Regions from separate parts of the Homo sapiens genome. Here all the other regions are linked to region 3. The links are contacts of gene promoters, found by promoter capture Hi-C in blood cells and fetal thymus (Javierre and others, 2016). All regions are on one chromosome and are shown on one strand. The core of a region is centred on a gene start or on the middle of the fragment in contact, and the rest is flanking DNA. Distances in the headings are between cores, read along the strand shown. Region 1 overlaps LOC105375199 (a long non-coding RNA gene). Region 2 overlaps SNX10 (sorting nexin 10). Region 3 holds the start of NFE2L3 (NFE2 like bZIP transcription factor 3). Region 4 overlaps SNX10 (sorting nexin 10).

What was found. The method cuts DNA at HindIII sites, captures the fragments that hold promoters and counts their contacts. A CHiCAGO score of 5 or more calls a contact.
Region 1: a contact is called between a fragment that was not itself captured here and the fragment with the promoter of NFE2L3 in region 3, in 1 of 17 cell types (fetal thymus). The highest score is 5.6, in fetal thymus.
Region 2: a contact is called between a fragment that was not itself captured here and the fragment with the promoter of NFE2L3 in region 3, in 1 of 17 cell types (activated CD4 T cells). The highest score is 5.4, in activated CD4 T cells.
Region 4: a contact is called between a fragment that was not itself captured here and the fragment with the promoter of NFE2L3 in region 3, in 4 of 17 cell types (activated CD4 T cells, non-activated CD4 T cells, total CD8 T cells and 1 more). The highest score is 8.7, in activated CD4 T cells.

The regions. Positions count from the first base shown.
Region 1 is chr7:25,946,970-25,950,116 of GRCh38, reverse strand. The region is part of intron 6 of LOC105375199 (a long non-coding RNA gene); the gene reads left to right. It overlaps MIR148A (microRNA 148a), which reads left to right and starts at 131; the gene lies at 131-198. RefSeq lists an enhancer at 2,021-2,090. The HindIII fragment of the contact is 2,684 bases long and covers 461-3,144 here.
Region 2 is chr7:26,317,423-26,320,634 of GRCh38, reverse strand. The region is part of intron 1 of SNX10 (sorting nexin 10); the gene reads right to left. Among named protein-coding and RNA genes, the nearest start is that of SNX10, 27 kb to the right of the region's middle. The HindIII fragment of the contact is 372 bases long and covers 1,093-1,464 here.
Region 3 is chr7:26,150,591-26,153,609 of GRCh38, reverse strand. It overlaps NFE2L3 (NFE2 like bZIP transcription factor 3), which reads right to left and starts at 1,412. Exons shown (of 4, transcript NM_004289.7): 1 at 542-1,412. The coding sequence starts at 1,111. RefSeq lists enhancers at 324-513, 1-657, 658-1,452 and silencers at 634-703, 714-963, 1,074-1,143, 1,154-1,223, 1,244-1,623. The HindIII fragment of the contact is 3,470 bases long and covers 1-2,985 here.
Region 4 is chr7:26,299,277-26,302,741 of GRCh38, reverse strand. All of the region lies in intron 1 of SNX10 (sorting nexin 10), which reads right to left. Among named protein-coding and RNA genes, the nearest start is that of SNX10, 9.1 kb to the right of the region's middle. RefSeq lists an enhancer at 1-455. The HindIII fragment of the contact is 7,941 bases long and covers 1-3,465 here.

The DNA of each region.
Region 1 (3,147 bases), core at 553-3,052, 200 kb after region 3:
CGTTCCATTATCGGTCGCATCCTGAACTAAATTGCTTTTAACGAGTTATTCTTCTTTGTCTTAGCTGGGGGGTGGGGGAACACACCTGCAGGAAGAAACTTCTGGAGGAAGACAGCACGTTTGGTCTTTTGAGGCAAAGTTCTGAGACACTCCGACTCTGAGTATGATAGAAGTCAGTGCACTACAGAACTTTGTCTCTAGAGGCTGTGGTCGCCGATGCCGCCAGTGCTCCAGACGCCAGGCCGAGTGGCCCTGGTGGCCACGTCGCTGCGCCTTTCCCTTGGGGGAGGGGCAAGGCCAGAGGGGGTCCAAGTGCAGCACGAGGAACTTGACCAATTCCCTTGAAGCGGGTGGGTTAAACCCTGTAAATGGGAACAAAATCCCCCCAAATCTCTTCATCTTACCCTGGTGGACTCCTGACTGTAGAATTTTTTGGTTTAAAGAAGAAAAAAATAAAGCTTTGGACTTTTCAAGGTTGCTTAACAGGTACTGAAAGACTGGCCTCACTTAAACTGAGCCAGGAGAGCTGCAGATTTATTAATGGGTGTGTTAGTGTGCAGTGCCTTGCAGGAATTTAAACTCTCTACCCTTAAAGAAGGAAATGTATTTGTACAAAAGCCACAGATAATGGTCCTTTTACTCAAGCGACCTGCTGGATAAATGACAGCCTGCAGGGATTGAGTTTGGAGATCTAGTCTCAATTCTGCTTCCGATTTAGATGCAGTTCACTTTTGTTTTTTAAAGTAAGTTTTATTAATGGAAAGGAAGAACTTTTTCCAAGAAAGCATTTTGAAAGCCACTGGGGGAGGGGGACATTTATGCTTTTGGGCTGTGGAGATCCTTTAGGTGGAGAGACTGCTCTCTCATCCCTAGTGGAATGGAGGTTTGGGTTGGTGAGTTTCTATCAATAGCCTGCTCTCTATAGTGGGTCAGTGACTGGCACCAAATTGTAGTCCTGTTCCATGGACATTGCCCTGTTTTGGTTTTATGAGCTTTTGGCCAGGCACAGGACGCAGGGTGGTAGGGAAAAAAGGAAATGGTTCCTGTGCCCGTGGTGCTGACAGGTAAGGGAAGGGCCTTCTGATGTATTTTATGGGATGCTTCAGAAACCTGGGGGTTGCTTGTGTCTCTGGGAAGCCCTTGGTAAAGAAAGCCACCATTTTTTTTACTTAGGTATATTCCAGTGGTTTATCATCGGGAGAGGGATGATAATGGAGGAAGGCTCAATGAGGGAGAAAGTATTCAGCTGCTTGATGTTAGAGCTTAATGGCAGGACCTACCAGTTGCTTTTCACAGAAATGCTGTGTATTGATCCTAAGGCAGCATGTGTTCTCTTTTGTGTGGCCATTATCCATTCTCCCACTTTTCCATCAGTGACTGCTTTGCTTTTGTTCCTCAATCCTTTACCCAAAAATGGCTGAATTATTTCTGTGCAGTTAAATAAAGTGATCCAAACTCAAGTACGTCTTGTGTTCATTTGAGATGTAAGGTATGCTTACTTGAGGAAGAGGATTCTCTTTCCTAGTTCTTATGTCTGTACATCTCCACAAGATAGTCTGAATATACTGAATTTTAAGAAAACTTAAATCAACTTTGTAAGAGAATGGGAGGTAAAGAGTGGAGCGGTTGACTGGGAGAGTAGTCATCCATACAAAGGAATTAGGTCAGGATCTCTCACCTCCAGAGAAAGGCAAGGTTTGGAGTCCCTGACATGATTCAGTCTGGTTTGACTTCTATGCTTAAGTGATTTGCATTTCTCCTGTTTGTGACCACAAGTGAGTTAAGGACTAACCAAGCAGGAGGGCTGTGGTTTACTCTGGTGCTAAGGATGCCAGGAATAGGAACTGGGAAAATCGGCAGTCTTGGGGTGCTTACTGTAAACCTGGCATGGTCTCATAGACCTCAGTCGTTTAGCAATCAGTGTATTTTCACCTCCCGAGCATCAGGTGTTACTCTAGACGTTACGAATGCAACAGTGAACAAAATAGGCCCCGAACCCTGCCCTCTTGGAGGTCTTTCTCATGCAAGAGGTAGACAATACAAATATAAAATAATCAGAAGGGTGATAAACGTCAGGGAAGGAAGAACAAGGAACGCTGGGGAGGCCGTGGTGTTCATTTAACCCAGATCGCTGGGCAAAGGAAACCATCACTAGCAACCTACTTTGCATGGCCTTGGCACTCCTGTCTTTATTTTAGATACTTTATGTGAATGAACCAAACAGGTGCAGCTGAAACTTTAGTCATGCATTGCTTAATGATGAGGATAGGTTCTGAGAAACGTGGTGTTAGGCGATTTCATTGTTTTTGCAAACATCACAGAGTGAGTGTTCTTAAACCTGGGTGGTAGAGACTACCACACACTTAAGCTGTATGCCATAGCCTAGTGCTCCTGGGCTACAAACCTGTGCAGGATGGTACTGTACTGAGTGCTGTAGGCAAATGTAACACAATGGTAAGGATTTATTTAACCGTACAAAAGGTACAGTAAAAATACAATATAAAATGTAAAAAATGTTACACCCATATGGGACACTTAGCATGCATGGAGCTTGTGGGACTAGAAGTTGCTCTGGGTGAGTCAGTGAGTGGTGAGTGAATGTGAAGGCCTAGGACGTTACACTATTGTAGACTTTATAAATATTATAAACTTAGGCTACACTATATTTAAAAAAAATGCTATGACATGACAGCTGTGACATCATTAGGCTGTAGGAATTTTTCAGCTTCATTATAATCTTACGCGACTACTGTCATATATTTGGTCCATTGTTGACTGAAATATCCTTATGCAGTGCGTGACTATCACTCAACACTGAAAGCCTTTAATTTTTTAAAGAACATTTTAAATTTCAAATGCAAGGGTTGGGAAATATGGGGGGGCGTGCAGAGGAGCTGGGAAGCCATGGTGCTGGGTCACTGATTCCCCATTTTATATAATCTCCCACCACATCTTCCAGAAGTAAAATTCTAGGATTCGACATAACTTGCATTTCAAAGAGTGTTTATGCCAAAGAATTCGAGTGCTTTCAAATATTCTTTAAATAGTTGGGAGCGGGGTGGACGACGTATTTGTTGGGATCCCACAAGAGTGCTATAGTCTAGTCTGCAGGTGATGTTCAGGAAGCACTTCTTCCCCTAAGCTTGT
Region 2 (3,212 bases), core at 29-2,528, 170 kb before region 3:
TGGTGAAACCCCCGTCTCTAGTAAAAATACAAAAATTAGCAGGGCGTGGTGGCGGGCGCCTGTAGTCCCAGCTACTCGGGAGGCTGAGGCAGGAGAAATCACTTGGACCCGGGAAGCAGAGATTGCAGTGAGCAGAGATCGCACCACTGCACTCCAGCCCGGGCAACAGAGTGAGACTCCATCTCAAAAAATAAAAATAAAATAAAATAAATTAAAAAAAGAAGAAGATTCCAGAAAATATATGCCAAGGTAAACAGAAGTGGGATGGGTGAGGGGGCTTTCATTTTTTTACTTTGTACATTCCAGGATTAACAACTTTTTTTTATATATTATTTTTGTGATTTAAAAATATAGGCCGGGAGCAGGGGCTCACACCTGTAATCTCAATACTTTGGGAGGGCGAGGCAGGCAGATCACTTGAGGTCAAGAGTTGGGGACCAGCCTGGCCAACAAGGTGAAACCGTGTCTCTACTAAAAATATGAAAACTAGCCGGTTGTGCTGGTGGGCACCTGTAATCCCAGCTACTCGAGAGGCTGAGGCAGAAGAATCGCTTGAACCCGGGAGGTGGAGGTTGCAGTGAGCCGAGATTGCACCACTGCACTCTGGCCTGGGCAACAGAGTGAGACTCTGTCTCAAAATAAATAAATTAATTAATTAAAAATATAAACAAATATATAAATACAAGTAACATATATATACATATAGATATATAAAATAAAGAAGAGCCCCACACTTCTTTCTTCCTCTTTTGCTGAATTAGGAAAAACCAGTACTAGGGAAGGAAACGTCCTGGAGAAGTGAACACTTGGCTCCTGCTCTCTGAGGCTTTTGTCATTTCCCCCCCGCCTTAGCTAGCACATCAGGTTGTATTTTTGTTTTGTTATCATCAGTCAAAATCAACACTTAATTTTTGAAGCAGGGTTTGCGTTAGAAGAAAAACAAAATAAGAACTGCAGAGCAAATCCAAATGGGTTTTTTTTGTCTTTTTTCCTGGGTTTAGCTCAGCTGAAGATAAATCCAGATGGTCTAGAAGCAAGCTAAGCCCAGACCAATATGTTTGTAATGATATCAGATGCTGATAGACAAAAGCTTTACTGGCCTTCCGTCTCACTGAAATGTCTTTCCAACTCTGCCCATCTCTGAACATATCATTTATTTATAATGTATCCTCCCCTTGCTTCCAAATGGATTTGAAGCAGCTCCCAGATAGATTTAAGGCAACAAACAGTAGTTGACCTGAAAATGGCAAAGCAGTTAACATAGAAACTGAAGAACAGAAATGGCAAGAATGAGGAAGAAGTAAAAATGCTATTTTAAACATAAACTCCTAACATTTCATAAGTATATTTAATTTTCAGTTGTTATATACCAGAGTTCCTCAAGGAGGAGATAATAGCCTAGAAAGATACTGCTACAATATCTACGTCTACTGATTCAGTGAATAAATCTAAATTCAACAAGCTTCCCAATGCTTTTCAGACATGACATTGTTCACAAGCCACTCTTATGACCACAGAAGTACAATAAATCTCTTGACACAGACCTCCCTTCCTCCACTGACACAGGGGTTTGATCATCTCCAATAACTAGCTTGAAAGGCAGCATCAAAGTTTAGAGTTCAGGTTTGGAGTCATTCATATCTCGGTTCAAATCCCCAACTATGCCACTCATGGCTGTGTGACCTTGAACAAGTTACTTAACCTCTCCGAGAAAGCCTCAATATTCTCTTGGAGAAAAAGGGATCTCATGTGGAGAAAAAGTGACTCTTTCATACAGCTACTAGAAGGATTAAATCAGATAATGTACTTAAAGCACTTAGGAAGTATACAAGAAAAATTAAGTATACAAGAAAAATTAAGTATGGGCTGGGTGTAGTGGCTCATGCCTGTAATCCCAGCAATTTGGGAGGCCAAGGCAAACAGATCACTTGAGTCTCAAGTTCGAAAGCAGCCTGGGCAACATGGCAAAACCCCATGTGTACAATAAACACAAAAATTAGCGAAGCATTTTTTTCGGCAGGCACCTATAATCCCAGCTACCCGGGAGGCTAAGATGGGAAGACTGTTTGAGCCCAGGAGGCAGAGATTGCAGTGAGCCATGATCTCGCCATTGCACTCCAACCTGGGCAACAGAGTGAAACCCTGTCTCAAATAATAATAATAACAATAATAAATAAGTATGACCACTGGCTGAATTATTGGTACTTTTTTCTTCAAAATATAAGAACAATGGAAGGTGTAAAAAACGATATTATTCCAATAAAAAAGCTGGATTGGATATCTGCATATACATGTACATCTTCACAGACCAGAGAGACAAAAGCAAGACTCGCCTTTCTCAAAGGATGCACAAGGATCCCTGCACACTTAGCTATAAGAAATAACCACATATACCTGCAAACACTGTGGAAAAAAAAAATCACTGGGCAAATAGTGTACGGCTATTGGTACAGGAAATATGCGTTAGCCTGGCTATTCAAGATTGACTACCATCAGAAATGTAGGCGATGTGATCTAACATTTGCGTCTTAAAATTCTAGTATATTCTGGGCATACTCCAATTGCTTTCAAGTAAGCTCCATTCTGAATGTGTCTTCAAACCAACAGTCCCATAAAGGCCTTTCCCATATCCTAGATGCCGAAGACATTTGGCCTATTAGAAGATCACCATGAAAGCCGGGCGTGGTGGCTCACGTCTGTAATCCCAGCACTTTGAGAGGCCGAGGCAGGCAGATTATGAAGTCAGGAGTTCAAGACCAGCCTGGCCAATATGGTGAAACCCCATCTCTACTAAAAATAAAAAAATTAGCTGGGCGTGGTAGTATGTGCCTTTAATCTCAGCTATGCAGGAGGCTGAGGCAGGAGAATCGCTTGAACCCAAGAGGCAGAGGTTCCAGTGAGCCGAGATCGTGCCACTGCACTCCAGCCTGGGCAACAGAGTGAGACTCTGTCTCAAAAAAAAAAAAAAAAAAAAAGATCAAAGAAGATCACCATTAAATATTCAATATTCATTCAGGCTTCCATTTTTCCAAGTTAATTATTCCCAGGTATTTGGTGGCCCTTGCTACAGAGTAAGAGACTTAAATAAGTGTCTCTTCTAAGTTCCCAGTAAAATGAACAGAAAATGCCAACAGTAATAAAAACTGCCACTACTGATGACTATGTATCGGCCTTGTGCTGAGTATGTTGTATGTTGTTAATTCTCACAATCA
Region 3 (3,019 bases), core at 163-2,662:
CCTGCCGGCTGGCCTCTGAATAGACCCTGACCATGGCTCCTTAATCCAGGGAAGCAGCAAAAACGAACAGCAATTGGGCTGAAAACAGGGCGAAGGTCCTTGCGTTAGGCCGGGAGAGTCGTTCTTAAAAACATGCATCCTCCCAGAGGTCACGGCCTCCTTCACATCGTCCAGGTCGGGCACGGGTCCCAGAGAACGACACCCCAGTGTACATGAGGTACTGAGCGAAGACAGTGGGCATTGCTTCTCCCCTCCCCATCCCCGAACTACTCTTGCCAGCCATCACACACAAGGAAAGGTATTCTCTATAACCAAACGGATGATTTCGTCCACTTCTTCCTTAAACACCTAAAAACCACAGCGACAGCACTAGTAGCCCTTCATTCGGAATCAGAGCAGCAGCATCTGCGAACCTGCAAAGACCAGGGGCTAAGGGTGCCAGGACACAGCGAGAGTGGCCCCTGCTCAGATCCGACACAAGCCTCGGGGGCTCCCGGCGGCGTAGACGCCGCACTTCGCTCGCTTCCCGCTCTGCACCTACCTCGCTCGCACATCCGCCAGCGTCCGGCACCTGAGCCGTCGGTTCCGCGGGTGCCTTCTCCTCTTCCCCGGCGTCCAAGGGGCCACTCCGAGCCGCTCGGGGGTCCCCGCCGCCCCCCTGCACAGCCTGGCTGCCGCCGTCCACGCTGGCGCCGGCTCCTCCGGTGGACGAGGCGGCGGCGGCGCCGAGCAGCCCGTGGGCCTCGTCCGCGCTCCCGGCAGCCACGCTGTGCACCAGCCATGCATCCACGCTGGTGCGAGGGACGAAGGGGACCCCGAGCGCGCGCACCTCCCGGAGCAGCTGGCCCTCGGGCGGCGCGGCAGGGTCCAGCTCCCGGCCCTTGGGGTGCAAGTGGCCCGCGCGCCCCCACCCTCCCGAGGCCGAGAAGGGGCTGAGCGCGTAGGCGGAGCTGGCCGGGCCGCCCAGGAACAGCAGCTCGTCCTGCAGCAGGGTGGGCGGCGGCAGCAGCAGGTAAAGATCTAGGTCTACGCGGAGCCCCGCCAAGCTCAGCAGGAGGGTGAGGTGCAGGAGGCCGCCGCCGGCCGACCACCACCGCTTCAGGTGCTTCATCGCCGCCGCGCGCCCGGGAACGCCCCTGCCGGCGCCCGCGGGTCCCGGCGCCCCAGCCGCCGGGGTGACACGTGCGGACCCCGCGCGCCGCCCGCACCTGCCTGGAACCCAGATAAGCGAAACAATGGACCGGGGCGCGTGGCGGCCGTCGCGGGTTCCCAGCACCGGGCACAAAGGCGTTCCCTCGGCAGCCGGCACCGTGCCTGGCACCGCCGGGGATCGGGAGAAGCGAAGAAGGAGCCACCTGAGCGCCGAGCCCGTTCGCCCAGCCGCCCGCAGCCCGGCGCGGTGGCCAAGCTCCGCCCCCGGCCGCGGGCGCAGCCGACAGGAACACGCCCCCTGCCGCCCGGGGCCCGCGCCCGTGGGAGGGGCCGCACGGGGCGGGGCTCCCCGAGCTCAAAGCCTCTTTATGTCCGGGGAACGCAAGGCTTTCTGGGAGCAGAAGTTGTTCTGGGCACCAAGTGGCCCCTTGCCACCCTGTGGCCGTGAGCTGGGCCATCCTTGCTGAAAGCCAAGGGCGGGAGTTGGGGTGGAGGGCTAGGTGGTGGGTAGCTGGGTGGGAAGGGACAGGATGTGTAGACTGGGCGGAGAGTGACTGGGCAGCTACGAGGGGCCTGGCAGCTTGCAACGGGCTTCCACCCCAACGTGAGGACACTTGGCGGGCAGAGTGGGCAAGAGTAACCTCTCTGTCTCAGTTCCGCTATCTGTAAAATGGGGATCATAGAGCCTGTCAAACAGGGATGTGTTGAGGTCAGATGAAATATTTCGTGTAAAGTTCGGAGTTTCACATATAAATTCCACCGTTGCCATTGGGATCAGTCATCCCACCACTCCGCACACCCCAGTCCCAGCCTCACAGACCCCTCTCTCTTCTCTGGGCGTGCTCTGCATAGTGCTAGACCTCCTCTCGGTATCCTTTGCTCCTTATCCGTTGTTTCCTTGAGGGTTGACAGCACCAGCTCTACAGTTACCCTGAGTGAGTTCAAGTCCCCCCTCCACTTGAGGGGCGACCTTGGACAAATCTCTCCTTTTCTCTGTGCCTCAGTTTTCTCACTGTAAAATGAGACTAATAATAGCACCTCCCCAGCAGACCTTTTGTGAGCCCCAAATGAGATAATGCATGTAAACCACCGACCACAGCACTGCATGGGTAGGAAGTGCTCCCTGCTACCCATTGTTTGTGTTACTCACCCTCAAGGCTTAGCTCCAAAGCTACATCCTCTGAATTTTCACCAGTTGGCATTAATCTCTCCCCCATCTGTTGCACCGTGATTTCTCCGTTTGCCAACATTGTAACAGTTGGCCCATTCAACTCTGTGTTGTAGATGAGAATCGGTCTGATTTGCCCATTGTAAATTCTTGAGGACAAGGAACCTGTTTGGTTCACCTTTGTCCATGCACAGTACCCAGCACTGGGCCTTGCAAGGGTAGGTTTTACTAACCTTAGCTCCCTTCCTTGGAAGAAAAGGGGACAGGAGGGGATGCCCAACTGAGAATGGGCAGTTGTGTAAAAAGTTGAGCAAGACTTGTTTTAAAAGGCCCCTCCCTCCACCTGGCTTTCTCATCTCTCTCCTGGGCTAGTGTAGTAAGAAGAGAAAAGAATGGGGACCAGGGGAGCAGAAACAGGGGAGCAGAGGAAAGTTGCTTCCTCTGTGTTAAGCCTTGGAAGATGGGTTGGGGTGGCAAAGAGGATGAAGAAAGGTGATTGCCAGGTTATCAAGACCCCGTTCACAGCATTTAGTCTTTGAACAGCGGATTTAGAGTCTCAGCTTAGTAAATGCTGCCTTCAGCTTTTTACTGAGAACCTACTAACTGCCTGAGGCTGTGCTGGAGGCATGAAGGATATGAAACGGAGTTCTTTCCTTCCGTAAGCTTATGGTTTTACTAGGGAGATGAGATAAAAATTTG
Region 4 (3,465 bases), core at 892-3,391, 150 kb before region 3:
CAAAACTGGGGTCAGAACTCCAAGCCCAGCCTTTGTGGGTATGCAGCAAAAGTGGTCACCAGGGAGCAGGGAGTACCAGAAACCGAGGGTGCACCCCGCAGAAAGCAGCCACGCTGGTGAAAACAAAGAATAAGAGTGCACAACACACAAGACGAGTAAGGTATTACCCGAGGGTCCTGGGCAATACGTAGGCCAGGCTGGGGCGTACTGTGCTTAAGAGAGAAGCTGTACAAAAACGTGAAAGAGGAGGCTTGCTGCACACAGAGGGAGACCATGTGAATGGAAACACAGTGCTGAGGTGGGGTTGTCTTGGGGCTGCAGAGGTGGCCCCCATTGTCACTGCTGGTGCCAGCCTGCGTAGAGTCCATCTCCTGCCTGCAAAGGAGTTGGCTCTCAAGGTCACGTCAGGGCAAGTGCCCTACACTGATGAGAGCTGTGTAAGATTCTGGGCCCACACAGCTTGAGATGGGTCTTTCTGTTTCTCTGATACCCAGAGAACTTTGACCACATGCTAAAGGGACCTTTGCAGAATCAAGGAAGCATAAAAAGGCACAAAGAAGGAAAATGCACACCTGAGATGGAAAATGGGAAGGGAGATTGGAAAAAAAGGAGATGAAAATAACCTCACACCACTGATGTCAAAGTTAAAATGCTCTGAGGTATTTTACAAAGCCCTGGTTGTCTATGGTATAAGGGAAAAAACGTATGACCCAGTCCCCAAGTTACAGCCTTTTATAATCTACATGGATTATGTTTGAGGATCAGAAGTGGTAACCTCAGAGTCCTATGCCTAACGATGTACCCAGTATGACTTTTAAATTTTTCCCTTAATAAAAAACTTTTAAATCAGAGAGAGTGCATTTTGACTCTAAAAGCAAACTCAATGGTGGGACTCTTAAAATAAAGTACTGGAAAAAAAAATGGGTATGGGAACAGCTGTGGCTCAAATCCTGTCTCCTCCATTTGTTCAAGTCATGAAATATCTCTGAATTGTCGAAAATGTCTGTAGCATCTCCTATATCACAGGAATAATGAGATAATGTAAACTGAAGTACCCAGGACAGTGTGTGGTACATGGTTGAGTACTAAATAGATGTTTCCATCTCCTTCCTAAAACATGCCATGCCAAATAAACACAAAATGTTCCTGGAAGCATGTCAGAAAGCCTTGTCACACTCCTTGGACACAGGACTTGTCCTGGGTGAAGTCTGTCTTTGGCCTTTGGTGCCCCCTTTGGTTCCCCCTCACCCTCTTTTTTGTTCTCTCATCCCCAGGAATCCAAGGCTTCTTAAGGCACAGCACCTTGGAAGCTATTAGGAATTTAGTAGGCATTTCCAGCCTGAATCTAAAAAGGAGCTCAAGACTTCCCTTTCCTATCTTCCTAAGGGATTCGGACCACATAGGGAAAAGAAAAAATCAAGGACATGACATCTGTAGTTCATTATAAATTCTGCCTTGCCAGCCACCTTTCTTGAGCACAAGAGAATATACACATTTAACTATACCAATGAGTAACATAAGATCTGGCCTTGTTAATGCCAGAAAGCCTGGTTAGACATACACTCTGTGTGTGGTTTTTGGGGGGATTTGGGAAGGGATAGTGATGCTGAGAAAACACCAATGAATACCAATGATGAAGTAACATAACTAGTTTTAAGCTATACTCAGAAAACACAACTAAACTGAGAGATGATGGCTTTTTTTTTTTTTTTTTTTTTTTTTGGAGACAGAGTATCACTCTGTCACCCAGGTTGGAGTGCAGTGGTACAATCTCGGCTCACTGCCACCTCCACCTCCCAGGCTCAAGTGATTCTCCCATCGCAGCCTCCCGAGTAGCTGGGACTACAGGTGCTCGCCACCACACCTGGCTAATTTTTGTATTTTTAGTAGAGATGGGGTTTCGCCATGTTGGCCAGGCTGGTCTCGAACTCCTGAGCTCCAGTGATTCACCCACCTTAGCATCCCAAAATGCTGAGATTACAGTGAGAGACACGGTGCTCGGCCTAATTCTTTTAAAGCACTTAAAGACCACGAAATCCAGGGTAAATCACCCTTCTGAATTAAGCAATACTCTTGCTGCATACATCCTGCCTTCAGAGATGGAGGCTGGGATAAACCTTTTAAAATAAGTAGCAGAAAAGGCAACTGGGAACACTCACCTGGAAATTCAGAGGACCAGGTCTTCCACTCTAGCAGAGACCACCCCTCCCTAGGCAGTTCAGCTGGGAGGCTCTAGGCAGGAGGGCCCTGTTAATACTTCAAATCATTTTGTTATTTTTTTCCACAGGTCTTAAGTATTATTTTATTTCAGGATAACAGACTTATTATCTTTAAAAATAAAAGATTTAGGGCTAGATGTAGTGGCTCATGCCTGTAATCCTAAACCCTTTGGGAGCCAAGGCAGGAGGATCCCTTGAGGCCAGGAGTCTGAGACCAGCCTGGGCAACACAGCAAGACACAGTCCCTACTCCCCTAAGCCAAAAAAAAAAAAATTATTATTTTGGCACTTTGTTTTATTTTTATTTATTTTTGAGACAGAGTCTCGCTCTGTTGCCCAGGCTAGAGTGCAGTGGCATAATCTCTGCTCACTGCAACCTCTGCCTCCCAGGTTTAAGCAATTCTCCTGCCTCAGCCTCCCGAGTGGCTGAGATTACAGGCATGCACCACCATGCCCAGCTAATTTTTGTATTTTTAGTAGAGATAGGGTTTCACCATGCTGGCCAGCCTGGTCTTGAACTCCTGACCTCAGGAGATCCACTCGCCTCGGCCTCCCAAAGTGCTGGGATTACAGGCGTGAGCCACCATGCCCGGCTTTTCTATTCTTTTTAAAAGTTTTTTTGAAAACAGAGACAGGGTCTCACTATGTTGCCCAGGCTGATCTCAAATTCCCAGGCTCAAGCAATCCTCCCACCTCAGCCTCCCAAAGGGCTGGGATTACAGGTGTGAGCCACTGCACACAGCCTGCACTTTTTATACTTTAAAATTATTTCAAAGTTTGGGGAAAAAAATAGAAATATAGGCCAGATGCGGTGGCTCACACCTGTAATCCCAGCAGTTTGGGAGGCCAAGGCGGGCAGATCACGAGGTCACGAGTTCGAGACCAGCCAACACGGTGAAACCCTGTCTCTACTAAAAATATAAAAATTATCTGGGTATGGTGGTGCTCACCTGTAATCCCAGCTACTGGGGAGGCTAAGGCAGAAGAACTGCTTGAACTTGGGAGGCAGAGGTCGCAGTGAGCTGAAAAAAAAAATCAGAGGCCAGGCACAGTGGCTCACACCTGTAATCCCAGCACTTTGGGAGGCTGAGGCAGGTGGATCACAAGGTCCACCAGCCTGACCAACATGGTGAAACCCCGTCTCTACTAAAAATACAAAAATTAGCTGAGTGTGGTGGCACATGCCTGTAATCCCAGCTACTCAGGAGGCTGAGGCAGAAGAATCGCTTGAACCCGGGAGGCAGAAG